3 separate regions of the Homo sapiens genome follow, and all the other regions are linked to region 1. The links are contacts of gene promoters, found by promoter capture Hi-C in blood cells and fetal thymus (Javierre and others, 2016). All regions are on one chromosome and are shown on one strand. Each heading gives the region's core, a stretch centred on a gene start or on the middle of the fragment in contact. The rest is flanking DNA. Distances are from core to core; before and after follow the strand shown. Region 1 holds the start of HMX2 (H6 family homeobox 2). Region 2 overlaps PLEKHA1 (pleckstrin homology domain containing A1). Region 3 overlaps PLEKHA1 (pleckstrin homology domain containing A1).

Region 1 (4,188 bases), core at 1,183-3,682:
CAATTTAGTAATTGTCCAAAGCCTCTGAGGGCCTGGCTTGGCCGAGCGTGTATGCATGTACATATATACAGGTGTATATATGGGGGAGGAGTGTACCTGGTTTTGTAGGTGTTTTCCTGATTTTTTTCCCTACCAACCACAGCCTGTCTGGCCAAAACTCCCTTTCCCACCACCACCCGAGAACATCTCACTCCGAATGGTTTTCAAAGCGTACTGGTTCGGTCTAGGTAGGAAGCAGGCTCTCTGACTTAGGGAATGCCAATAAATACCCGAAACAATCAAAACAAAAAGTAGGGCAGAGACCATAAATAAGAGCTAATGAATACACATGGTGTATTTCTTCATATTTCTGGAAACACGCCGCCTTGCTCCGGAGCCCTGCTTACAGTACAGTACGCGCCCGGCTCTGCGGGCAGCTGGGGGCGGCGCGGGGCGGCGGGCCGGTCAGTAGTCGAGCTTGTTGTATAGGTTGTAGAGAGGTAAGGCCGAGAGGTTGCTTCCCGGGTAGTAGAGCGGCGCGGGAAAGGCGAGCGAGCGCGGCACCGGCACGCGCAGCAGCGAACTGTCCCGGAACACCAGCGGCATGCTCACCAGAGTCTGCGCCGACGCGTGCGCCATGTTGGCCGCCTCCAGCTCAGCCGAGAGCTGCCGCTTCCACTTGTTGCGGCGGTTCTGGAACCAAGTCTTTACCTGGGTCTCCGTGAGCTGCAGGCTGGAGGCGAGGCAGGCGCGCTCCGAGCTGCTCAGGTAGCGCTTCATGTCGAAGGTGGACTCGAGCTGGTACACCTGGCTGCGCGAAAAGACGGTGCGCGTCTTCTTCTTGGCCGCGCCGGCCTGCCGCTCAGCGCCGCCGTCCCGCGGCCGCTCGGACCCCGGCGAGGGCGAGCCCGCGGGCAGGAGCCTCTCTTTCTCTTCTTTAAAGTCCGAGTGCGAAGGAGAGAGGAAAGGCGTGCGCTCCAAGCCGCCCGGGCCCGAGCCTCCGCTGCCCTTGGGGGTACCTGAGGAGCGAGAACAGACAGAAAGGCCATGGAGTTGGTTGGGGAGCCTCGGAGACCGCCAGCTCTCCCTGGGACCAAGCGGTTGGCAAGCGCCTGCAGCCTTGGTCCCACCTTACCAATCCCCTCCTCTTATCCCTCTCACTGGCCCCCCAAACCCAGCACCCCGTCCTTTAAAAGCGACAAGAGAGGGACCCAGCTACTTGGAGTATGGGGTCTCTGTGCTCCCACCTTTATGAATGGGCCAGGGGCAACAGGGAGAGGAGGTCTGGAGGGGGAAACATTAGCATGGTTTTAAAAGGCGAATTTGCTTGGTGGTAATTGAGCTGGAAGAGTTCCTCGAGCTTTATAGGGTGGCATCATTTCACAGGCCGTTTGTTTGGAAATCACGCTAAGGACTAACGCAGGACTCCCCTTCGTCAAATGTTGTAAAGAGGAACCGTCTCTGAAATGCACCATTGTCAATCATCTTGGAGTGCTAATCATTCCAAGGAGGAGAGAGAGAGAAAGGCAGAGATACGGAGCGAGTGAGGAAGAAGACTCAGAAAGAGATTACGGTGGAGACAGACTGCCCAGACCCGACTTGCAGATCTCCACCTCGTGTCCGGAAAGAAAGTACCAGATGTGCAGTGATTGAGGACAGCCGGGTGTAAGGCCGGCCGCGTGTCCCTCTCGCTGTGGTCCACTCTCTCAACAACTCAACCTTCCCCAGGAAGCCCAAGCCGGCACGGGTCTGTGTTCGCCTGCTCCCAGGGGCCCACCGGGCGGAGGAGGCACCACAGTGCGCGCCCCTCTCCCCGCGGTCCCGAACCCCCGGCTGCCGCAGCTCTGGCCAGAGGGGGCCCGGCGCGGGAGTCTTGGCGGGGCGCTCAGCCTCCCTCCCCTCGCGCTCGCTCGCTGCCACACTGGCGACGTGCGATCCTTACCCAGGCAAGGAAAAGGGATGGGGGGATGGTGCTTGGGGCCCTGCTCCTTAGGGCCGTGCTGGTCTGGGCAGAAGCAGGCGGGCGCCTTCCAGCCGTCGTCCGGCTCCTCCTCCTCCGAGGACACGGACAGGCTGCGCTTCCTGGCTGGCCAGCCGACGGGCTCCCGCGGTGCCTCCGAGGGGCCCCCGCCCAGGATGGACTGGATGGTGAAGCTGGAGACGCCACCGGCCGCCGGACACCCCTTGCCCGCATCTTCTTTGCTGCCCATCCTGGGTTCATAAGAAATCGAAGGAAACCAAGAACTCCCTTTAGAGACGATCTGGGTGATCTGGGTGGAAGGTGGTGCAGCAGGCAGGCAGTGGGGAGGGGCGGGGAGGAAATCTAGGGGGAGGGGGCGCCGAGGCTGGTGAGGCGTCCCTTCCGCGCCAGGGACATGCAGGCACCGGATGGCTGCGCAGGGGTTCCTGCCCGCCTGGCTCTGGGTGCGCCCGCCCAGCCCCGGTGCAAATGCCCCTTCCTCGCCCGCCAACTCGCCGGGTCTCCGGCGGCGCGGAGGCGGCGCGGCCTCATTTGCATAGAGGTTACCCGAACGCGGCCAATCGCAGCGCCGCCGAGCGGCCCCGGAAAATTTCAAAACGCTCCGGCCAGGCACACAGCACCGGTGCGCCCCCAGAGCGCGCCGAGGGCCTGGCGGGCATCAGCGGCGTCTAACCAGGGGCAGCCAGGGCTGAAAGCAGCTGCAGATTCTAGCCCGGGTTCCTGGCGGCTGCGGCAACTCCGACTCCTTGGACCCCTTGGACCCTTCTCTCCAGAGGCAGGGGCGGTGCGGGACTCGGAGCTGGAGTGGCTCGACGCCTCCGCAGGCGACGGGTCTCCGCGCCTCCCAGGGGCTTGTACAGGCTGCTCCACCATCCTCCCCCAGCCCTCCACCCCTTCTAGCCCCAGTGGGCGGGCAAAGCCGGCACTCCTGGGACCGTGGCGCCCTGCGTGGGGGTGAGGTGGGTTAGGAGCAGGCGTCTCCAGGCGGACGCTCATCCTCTCCAGCATGGCCAGGAGCCTTGGGAGCAGACATTCCCCTTCCCCGTCTGCAGACCTCATCCCTGTCACAGGTTCTACGGACCTACAGAATCTTTAGGGGGAGGGAGGAAGCCCTAAGACCTCTAGTCAAGAGATCTGGGTTCAAATTCCGGCACAACTATTTACACACTGCATGAACTTGCACAACTCATGCCGATTAAAGCCTCTCTGCCCTCATAGTTGAAAATAACTTCTCGGATTGCCTCAGGTAGGGATTAAAAGCCTCGAAGCACTAGCAGCGCATAGTAGGTACTCCATAAACCTGGCCGGGTAGCCCATGGCCCACCCGTGTTTTAAGCGAATCTGTGTTTTTGTTTTGTAAATTTTGAAGGTTTCCGAACTGCTGCAGAAATAGACGCCTTACTCCCAGGAAGAAGATAAGGAACTGGTGACAGGACTCGGTTTTAGAATTGAGCAGACTCGACTCAATTCTCGGCTGGGTGATCTTGGGGGAAGACATTTGGAAATTCTGAGGCTCGGTTTCTTTATTCCTAAAATTGGAGGAAGCAGTGCCTCCCTCGCAGAGGCTGTTGTGAGGTCAAACTACCCAGCACCGAGCCTGGCACACCGTGGTGCTCAGTAAATAGTGATTCCCTCTGTGTTCTCATAGCCCCCTTCTGTGCCCTGGCTCTCGCCCCTTTAATTCCTAGATCAGCTGTTACCCGAGCTAGAATTAGCCCAGCCAAGCAAAGCGGTTTGGGGCCACAGTCGTCTGCACAAGCTTCCTGGAAACTGAAGTGAGGCAAGGCCCGAAGTGCTCAGGCAACCCCGTCCCCTCAAGCTGTGACCTCTAGACCTCTTGGCCAAGAGATTCCAGAAGCCCTGTCTTTAGGGTGCCCCCCAAGTGCAGCCAAGGGTGAGTGGAGACTCTGGAATCAGTCCCCACAAATGTCCAGACACTGCATGACTGTGCAGTTCCTTCCTCGCCTGCACCGCGCCCGGGTTATTAAGTAAAGCGCTTATAATATCATTAGCCGCGGTGAGTTACCGACTGCGGCCCTGCCCGTGGCAGAACTCTTCCCTACTTAACTCCTCGAGGGGCTCGTTAATGGGCTAATTGATTAGGAGTCGGCCGCGCAGCCGGGGCAGGGGCAGGCGAGGGGGCGGGGGCCAGGGGGTGCGCGCAGCGGCCCGGGAGGCCAGCGAGGGGCAGGTGCCGGCCTCCGTCACCGCATTAACCTCTTCAGGGC
Region 2 (4,188 bases), core at 1,035-3,534, 770 kb after region 1:
TATTTACCTGATTCTTGTCTGTTTCCCCACACTGTAATGTAGGCTCCATGACAGCAGGGATTTGTTATTTACTGTTGTTTCTCCAATGCCTAACACAGTGGCTGTCACATGCAAGACCCTCAGTAACTATTTGTTGAACGACGGATGAAGTAACCCATAATTACTGCATCAAAGATTAACGTTAAGTTTCCAGATAGAAAGTTGTTTCTTCCTCATCAGACAAGAATCATTTACCAGATTTAACTGATTTATTTAAATAATGGAAGGAAAAAGTTTCAAATACTGTATTTCCACTTAAATTTATATTTTTAGTGAAACTTACATGAGGCAAAACCAGACACAATTATATTATTAACATGCCTCCCAACCCAAATTTCTCCTTCAGCTTTACTCATACTCTAAGGTATAGTTAGATCTTACAAATCAGTCATAAATTAACATAATTACAGTTAACACCTCATCAGTCAGGAACCAGGAAGCCAAAAAATAAGGCAAAACACAGAAACAGCCTGAGTGATATAAGAAAAAGCAAAGAAAAATTAAATTCTGTACAGTGAGACCTCAACAGGCCCACAAGACTTCACTATTATTTGTTAAAACATGTCGAGTGGGACTAGTCCTGTTGCCCCACAATCACTGACAAACACAAAGCTGAGGATATATAGACATAGAGGATCAAATATCTGTAGAGTCAGGCATGGCTCTGGCACCCTAATCAGCACCATCCTTCCACTCTGCAAGAGCAGTTGACAGAAGAGAGGGAAAGAACTGTAAGTCTTCAGGGAGAACGCAGGGAAAAGAAGGAGGTCTTCACCAAAACAGTGGCAGGGGCCTCTAACAGAAATCACTCATGAAGATCAGAGGAGCCTAGAACAGACTTGCATCCCATTCTCCAGTTCCACATCTGCTTATGCAGCAGACTGAGTGACTGACCCCATGTGTCTACTTGAAAAGGGGGACAAAGAGAATTGATGAGAAATGGCAGGGCACAGAAAGAAGGCAGACTTAAGTAGTCTGTATGCCACTATTCGACATCACAAGGAAGTGAGTTTCCAGTGGGTTGAATAGAAACCACAGCGTACCTGGATTGAAGTTGTTTTGCCATTATCAAAATATCTCGCTGCAGAGAGAAAAGATCTCCACCCCGACTCACACACATTCACGTAACCAGTGGGTAAACTGACAGGATGGGAGCAAGCAGATGGGTGTGTAGGTTGGAAAAGGTTTAGCTACAGAAAATTTCATACCCAGAAACTGTGCAGCAGGAGTCTCCCTGCAAGATCTCACCAAAAATGCCAGTTTGGTTGCCTATTAGTAGACTGCAATGGCCTGCCACTGTTAATCAAGAGAGGACTCTAATAGCACCAGATAACAAACACTTGTCTTTTTCTACTTCTCTTCTTGACACATTTGTATCCAAATAGATCCCTTAAGAGGGAAAGGAAAGAAGTATCCCAGGAGCTTACCACAAGCCGTCCATACCCCAAGTGCTTCAGTAAGTAAGTGGCCTGACCACAGGGTAAGGAAGGGAAAAAAAACCTTTAAATTGAATATATATGAGATTGAATGTTCAAACTGGAATAGACTGCAATTTTTTGTTTTTGTTTTTCTGTTTTTTTTTTTTTTTTGGAGACAGGGTCTCACTCTCCTGTCACCCAGGCTGGAGTGCCACAGCACAGTCTCTGTTCACTGGAACCTCTGCCTCCCAGGCTCAAGGGATCCTCCTACAACAGCCTCCCAACTAGCTGGGACTACAGGCACATGCCACCACGCCCGGCTGATTTTTCTATTTTCTGTAGAGACAAGGTTTCGTCATGTTGCCCAGGCTGGTCTCAAACTCCTGGGCTCAAGCTATCCTCCCACCTCGGCTTTCTGAAGTGCTGGGATTACAGGCATGAGCCACTGAGCCCAGCCTAGAGCTTTTTGATAACTGTAAATGACAGAAAAGCTATCATTTACCCATGATGTTATGGGGGGTGGGGGACAGGGGGGTGGGAAAGAGCCTACAAAATACAGTTAAAGGCAGTGAATAGTGAAAATTAAAACTCATTAAAACTCTTGTGTTTGTTCTCAGTAAGCTTGGACTGCTGAATAACCTGATGACATATGCAATAGCATTCTCATCCTTAATAATGGGAGGGAACACCTGACATGGAAATTCTCAGGAGGGATTTACTGTACCGGGTAAGATGCTACATTAGAAGCCCTCTGACATCACTTCCAATTCTAGTGCCTGTGATCGTCTTTTCCTTCAAGAGGTTAAATTCAATCCAGAATCTAGAGTTCAATGGTTAAACCATAAAAGGCTAGGCTGCCTAAAGGGCTAAAAACCACAACTTTCTGGAGAATAAAGCTATCAGACTGACAAGCCTGGTAAGAGTTCCATGTAGGAAACAATATTTTGCTCTAAAACTTATTTAACTTAAAAAAATCTTAAATGACTAATTTTCTTTTATATCCAACAGAAATTCCAGTTCAAAGAAAGCTTATAAAATCCCAAAAACCCTATCTTCCTGAATATTATCAATTCAACTAATTAAAAGGCTTACTAAAATAAATAGCAAACATATGTTTGCTTAAGCATCTTCTAGGAATCACAAACTCACATATCCCTTATTAGACAGTACCCACAAGAAAAAAAGTTACTTAGGGTCAAATGGTTTAATATTGCTCAGTAAGTGTAAGAGAGTTCTAGTGCTATAACAAATAACAGGATGCTTTATGTTTACATAAAAACATCCCATATTTTTATGTTTCTAAAAATAATTAAGCATTATAAACAATCATCTAAAGCTACCAAGTTTTCTGCCCTTTCTGAAAGCATTCCTTTCAGACACCATGTCAATAAATTCTTAAATGCTGGATGTGTACTCACAAATGGTCAAAAAACCTAAAACCAAATCTTAATATTTAACTCCTATTGAAGTCATTTTATTGTATCATTGCAGATCTAAAACAAGATTTTTTAATCTTGAAATTTAAATTTTAATATTAACAAAAGTAAACTGCTCCAGCATGAGAAAAGTAATTATTTGCATATTACCTCAGCTCACAGTTGGAATCAAATAGGAAATACTTTAAGGCAGTTAGTTATATCAACCCAAAATTTTCTAATAAAAGCAATGTTACTATTGTCACAAATAATTACTACACTATATTCAGAAAACTATCTTCCCCATTCTCAAATAAGTTATTTAAACAATAATGACTTGACATCAAGCAATATGTCAATGTCAAAGTATGACTTAAATTATATTAATAAACTATTTATTAGATTTCATTCTGGGTTACAAATTATCACACAATTAAAATAACTTCGGGATTTGCAGCATGACTAATAATAATAAAGAACTTCCAGGCTTAAGTCAAAAAGCCACTTTGTTTAAATCTCCATTAAATGTTTTTTGTGGGGGGAAGTCCCCATAAAAATGTAAAATGTTTCCACCTTTCCCAAGTATCTTCCTAGGAGTGGTCAATATTGTCATATCCTATATGTTAGCAAACGATACTTGAATGACTTTTAAAGAAAAGAATCCAATGCTATTCTTAACATCCTTAAACACTTCTAAAAAGGTCCTTCCGGCTTATGAACTCATGGCAGTTTCCTCACAATTGTATACTTATCCTGTTTCACTGTCTCTCCTAGTCTATGACAAACTCAATTTTACACACCATCTTTCCTATTTTGTTACACTGCTAAAACTGGGGAGAAAAAAAGATACAAACCTGCTACTTTCCCCCCTCCCAAAGCGACAATGAAAATACTAATTAACAAGATAAAGATTGGAAGCTCTGCGCGCGCCCGCGCGGTGTGTATACACATATATTTATATTATATATATATATATATATATATATATATATATCTTCTTAATGTCACTAAATTCACAGCCATATATCTTGATACAGGTATACGCTACAAGAGAAAACTGTCAGTAGATACAGTGTAAGGTTTACGGCAGTATAAAATAAATTAACTACTTTATTAATTCAAATTCTGTCAAACTTAAATACTCTTTTTTAAATGTATCAGTACTCTAAAATGCAATTTTCCTTGGGAAAATTGGCCAAGATAAAAAATACTTTAACTCCACTAGGGGAAATATTTCTTTTGCCACAAGTGTGTCAACAGGAAAAATTAAGAGCATGAAAAGTAAACAGGTATTTTGATCAGAATAAATCTTATTA
Region 3 (4,188 bases), core at 1,026-3,525, 730 kb after region 1:
ACTTTCTAAAACATTAAACTGTTAGGAAAGCTCATTTAAACTGAAAGTCAGTGGTAATGGGCATTAACTTTCCTGGCCCCCTGCAAACCAAGCAAATAACAGCATTGAATTATAAACAGAGAATATCCCCTATTTTATCTCCTGACTCTCCTCAGCATGCCGGTCTCTCACTTTGGGTCTTTCATAAAATAAAGCAAACAATTTCCATGTTAATTTGAGTTTGCTAGAACGTAATCCTTTTTCATTATTTCATGTATTTTGTTAAGCTACTCACCACTGCTCCTTGTTTTACACAATATCCAGCTTTGATAACCGCACTATCTTGAGGTGGTTTAGGAGTAAAGTAAGGAAGATGGCTTTGTGACCGTTTCAGATTATTTCTGTCAATACTTTCACCACATTCATTTACTTCTTCTTTCTAAAATGAAGCAAAATAAATAAATTATTTTCTTGCTTGTTTAGCATACTTTTATTTCATATTATCCCAGTAGAAAATCTTAAAATCCACCTTAGATTAGTCAGAAACAGATTTTTGAAGAGTTTTCTAATTAATCTGAGATACTTACTCTTAATTTTCCTGTCACTGATTAAAGCACAAATTTCCATTCCTCTTGTTTTGCACAAGTCCTGCCACCAGTGCTCTTTTTTGGGGAAGGAGTTAACTTTTTATTTTGAAATAATTATAAGGATTCACCAGAAGCTGCCCAAAAAAAGTACAACAGGTCCTATGTACCCTTTCACTAGTTTCCCCTCAAAGGGAAACGGCGTAACATTATCAAAAAACAAGAAATGGACATTGGCACAACCCACAAACTTTATTCGGATTCCACCAGTTTTACATACATTCATCTATGTGTGTCTATACAGTTCTATGCAGTTTTATCACATGTGTAGATCTGTGTAACTACTACCACATTTAAGACCCAGAATTGGTCATCACCCCAAGGCTCCTTTGTGAACTTTAGAGTTCCTACCCCTAAATCCCCTGGCAGCCACTAATCTGTTCTCCAAGACTATAATTTTGACATTTTGAAAATGTAATGTAAATGGAAGCATACAGAAGGTTATCTTTTGAGATTATCTTTTTTCACTCAGCATAATTCTCTAGAGATTCGTCCAGACTGTTCCTTGTATCTAGAGTTCATTCCTTTTTATTGCTATATTTCCATGGTATGGATGGATGACCAGTTGTTTAACTGTTCACCCATTAAAGGACATTTGAGTTGTTTCCCACTTTTAGCTATTAGGAAAAAAGCTGCTATCAACATTCATGCACAAGTTTTTATGTGAATGTAATTTTCCCTTTCTCTACGATAAACACCTAGTCCTGCAAATGCTGGGTTGTACAGTAATCACAAGCTTACTTTTATTATTAAAAAAAAAACAAAACATAAACACTAAACTGTTTTTCAGAGTGGCTAATTTTCATTCCCACCAGCAACACCTGAGAGATTATGTTTCTCCTCAACCTTGGCAGCATTTGTGTCGTCACTTTTATTTCAGCCATTCTGAGAGGTGTGCAGTGATCTTTTATTGTGCTCTTAATTTGTATTTTTTCCCTGCTAGCTAATGATGGTGAACATCTTTTCATGTGCTTACTTACCATCTGTTTATCTTTTATCTTTTGATGAAATATCTGTTCATGAATTTTCTAATTGGATTTCTTGGGCTTTTTACTGTTGGGTTCTGAGTTCTTTCTATGTTCTAGATAAAAGTCCTTTGTTGGACATGTGGTTTGCAAATATTTTCTCCCAGTTTGTAGCTTTTCTTTTCATCCTCTTAAGAAGGTCTTTCATAGAGCAAGTATTTTTTATTTTGATGAGGTCCAATTTACCAATTTTTGCCTTTTATGATAGACATATATTATTTTATAATTTTTAAAACTATACTACAAAATAAATGATGCAATAAAATTATACCCTCCATAAAATCCTAGAAACTACTGAAATATCTATACCAAAATTACAATGCAACAAAATCTTAACTCTAGACAAAATTAAAACAGCCACAGATACAAACTAATACAGTGTCTTAACACAACTACAGGAAAATAGTCTTACCCCTTATGTCAACATAGGTCATAATACCAGTGAAAGAAGCTTAATCTAGGTACATAGTAACCAGAAGGTTAACAGTTTAAAATCATTACTTTTGGAAAAAGTAAACACACAATCCTAGCTTATTTTTTTATCCAACTTTGGTGGAAAATGTATGCTCTATGACAGCAGGGAATTTCTGTTCATTAACATACCCTTTGCCAAGCATAAAGAAAGCACTCAATAGTTAATTAATTAATTAATGTTGTAAGATTTCTAATCCCACTAATCACCCTCCCGTAGCAAAAGACCTGAAAAATGTGGGGAATGATACAATTTGATTTAAAAGATTTATAAAGTGTCAAAGTCTTTTGAGTTCAAAAGGCACACTGGTAATGAAAATACCCAAGCTTGGCAATACCAATTGATTACTTTAAAATTCTTGGTTTCTCAACTACTAGTAACTTAATATCCATTACAAATTCATCCTTTTCAATAGCAAAACAAGAAATTCAAGCTCAGACAAGAGTTTTAATTTCATCAAAAATTGTATGTAAATTTATATTTTTCCTAAAACTCAAATAAAGACTTAATTTAGCATATTAGTACTTCTGAGATATAACTTAGTTAAAATTCCAGTCTTCTGTTTAGCTCACTTAGGCCAGGTTGTAGAAAAAATAGATTTTAAAAATTACTACTTGCAAACTCTTGACTCAGCAATTTTATTTCTAGGAATTTCTCCTTTAAGAATATTCATCATAGCATTGTTTATAAAGTAAAAGAAACAAAAAGGAAAAGGAACTCTATTTGTCCAATAGAGGATTTGTAATTTATGGTAAATCCATGGAAGAACTACTATGCACTCATTAAAAATGATATAAAAGGATTTCTGATGACTTGGAAAATGTTCATGATACAAGTGAAAAAATCTGTTTACAAAATGTAATATACAACTCATATCTCCATTTCTGAGGTGAAAAGTACATGAAGAAAGGCTCAGAGAAATCATGAGAAGTTTTAAATGTTATGTAATTTCCAAATTTTTTATAATAAATACTTTTGAAATAAACAAAAATATTTTATAGTAATTGTATATTATACCAATTAAGCAAAGATGCACTGTTTTAGTTTTAATAATATAAAAATCAATATACAATAATTAGACCCTCACACAATAGAAGAGTTACTTAATTACCTGAGTGGGAGTAATGATGGGTACGCCACCAACAATATCAGTTCTGTAAGACACTTGCTTTTTCCCACATTCACCATGGCGACTTAGGTTATCAGAATTAGGCTGTGAGTCTGACTGCTTTGGTACCTGAAATAGTAAATAAAATGAATCATTTTGCAACCAGCATTATACATGTGAACCTGTTTTCTCGCAGAATTTCTAATTATTCATCCGTTTGCATACGGTTGACAGATACATATAAAAATTATAGTCCATGTATGTACTCCTTAAGTTATCACACTAATTTTTCTGTTAGAATAATATTTTATAATATAGCTATCACGTAATGAGTGCTTACTCGGGCAGGTACTAGTTCACACATTTTTCTCCTTTACTACTCCTGTCTACCCTATGCATAGGGGCTCTACCCCCACCTAAGAGGTAAGGAAATAGGCTCAGGGGCATTAGGGAATATAGATTCAGATCCTGACTATAATACATTCTAGCCAAGTGTGTGTAACTCTTCCAAGCCCAACTGCTGTGCTCTAGACCCTGTTTATTGGCACACTTACTATTGGCTTACAGCTCTTTGCTGTTTTCTTCCCTTTCTCCATTCCTACCCATGATTCTGGGATTGTGGCATATTCAGTCTTTCCTGGCTTCAAGACAGAGACTATTACCAAAACCATAGTGTATTCAATAAATGTTGAAAGACTCAATGGATGAATCCAAAGTCAGCAGAAAAAAGAATAGCAAAATTCTTAAAACAAATCAGAAGTTTCAAAACAAAACTTTTCATTAGAAATTTAAAGAAGGAATTCCAATACTTGGATCAATGATAAATCGTTCACAAGTACAGGAAAACAATGACTGTGGTAACAGCAGAATCTCACATTAACACCTCACTAAAGTGGATGAAAGAATCAGAGGTATCATAAATTTTTAACATATATTTTTGCTTTTCTTATGTGATCTATT

The links. The method cuts DNA at HindIII sites, captures the fragments that hold promoters and counts their contacts. A CHiCAGO score of 5 or more calls a contact.
Region 2: a contact is called between a fragment that was not itself captured here and the fragment with the promoter of HMX2 in region 1, in 1 of 17 cell types (naive CD4 T cells). The highest score is 5.6, in naive CD4 T cells.
Region 3: a fragment that was not itself captured here is called in contact with the fragment with the promoter of HMX2 in region 1 in 1 of 17 cell types (total CD8 T cells); the score reaches 5.6 in total CD8 T cells.

Annotation. Positions count from the first base shown.
Region 1 is chr10:123,146,380-123,150,567 of GRCh38, reverse strand. It overlaps HMX2 (H6 family homeobox 2), which reads right to left and starts at 2,432. Exons shown (of 2, transcript NM_005519.2): 1 at 1,922-2,432; 2 at 1-998. The coding sequence starts at 2,189. The coding sequence ends at 445. RefSeq lists silencers at 321-615, 1,723-1,852, 2,243-2,562. The HindIII fragment of the contact is 9,748 bases long and covers 1-3,721 here.
Region 2 is chr10:122,376,180-122,380,367 of GRCh38, reverse strand. All of the region lies in intron 1 of PLEKHA1 (pleckstrin homology domain containing A1), which reads right to left. Among named protein-coding and RNA genes, the nearest start is that of PLEKHA1, 3.6 kb to the right of the region's middle. The HindIII fragment of the contact is 407 bases long and covers 2,081-2,487 here.
Region 3 is chr10:122,412,089-122,416,276 of GRCh38, reverse strand. It overlaps PLEKHA1 (pleckstrin homology domain containing A1), which reads right to left. Exons shown (of 12, transcript NM_001001974.4): 6 at 3,232-3,357; 7 at 275-418. Among named protein-coding and RNA genes, the nearest start is that of MIR3941, 2.8 kb to the left of the region's middle. The HindIII fragment of the contact is 347 bases long and covers 2,102-2,448 here.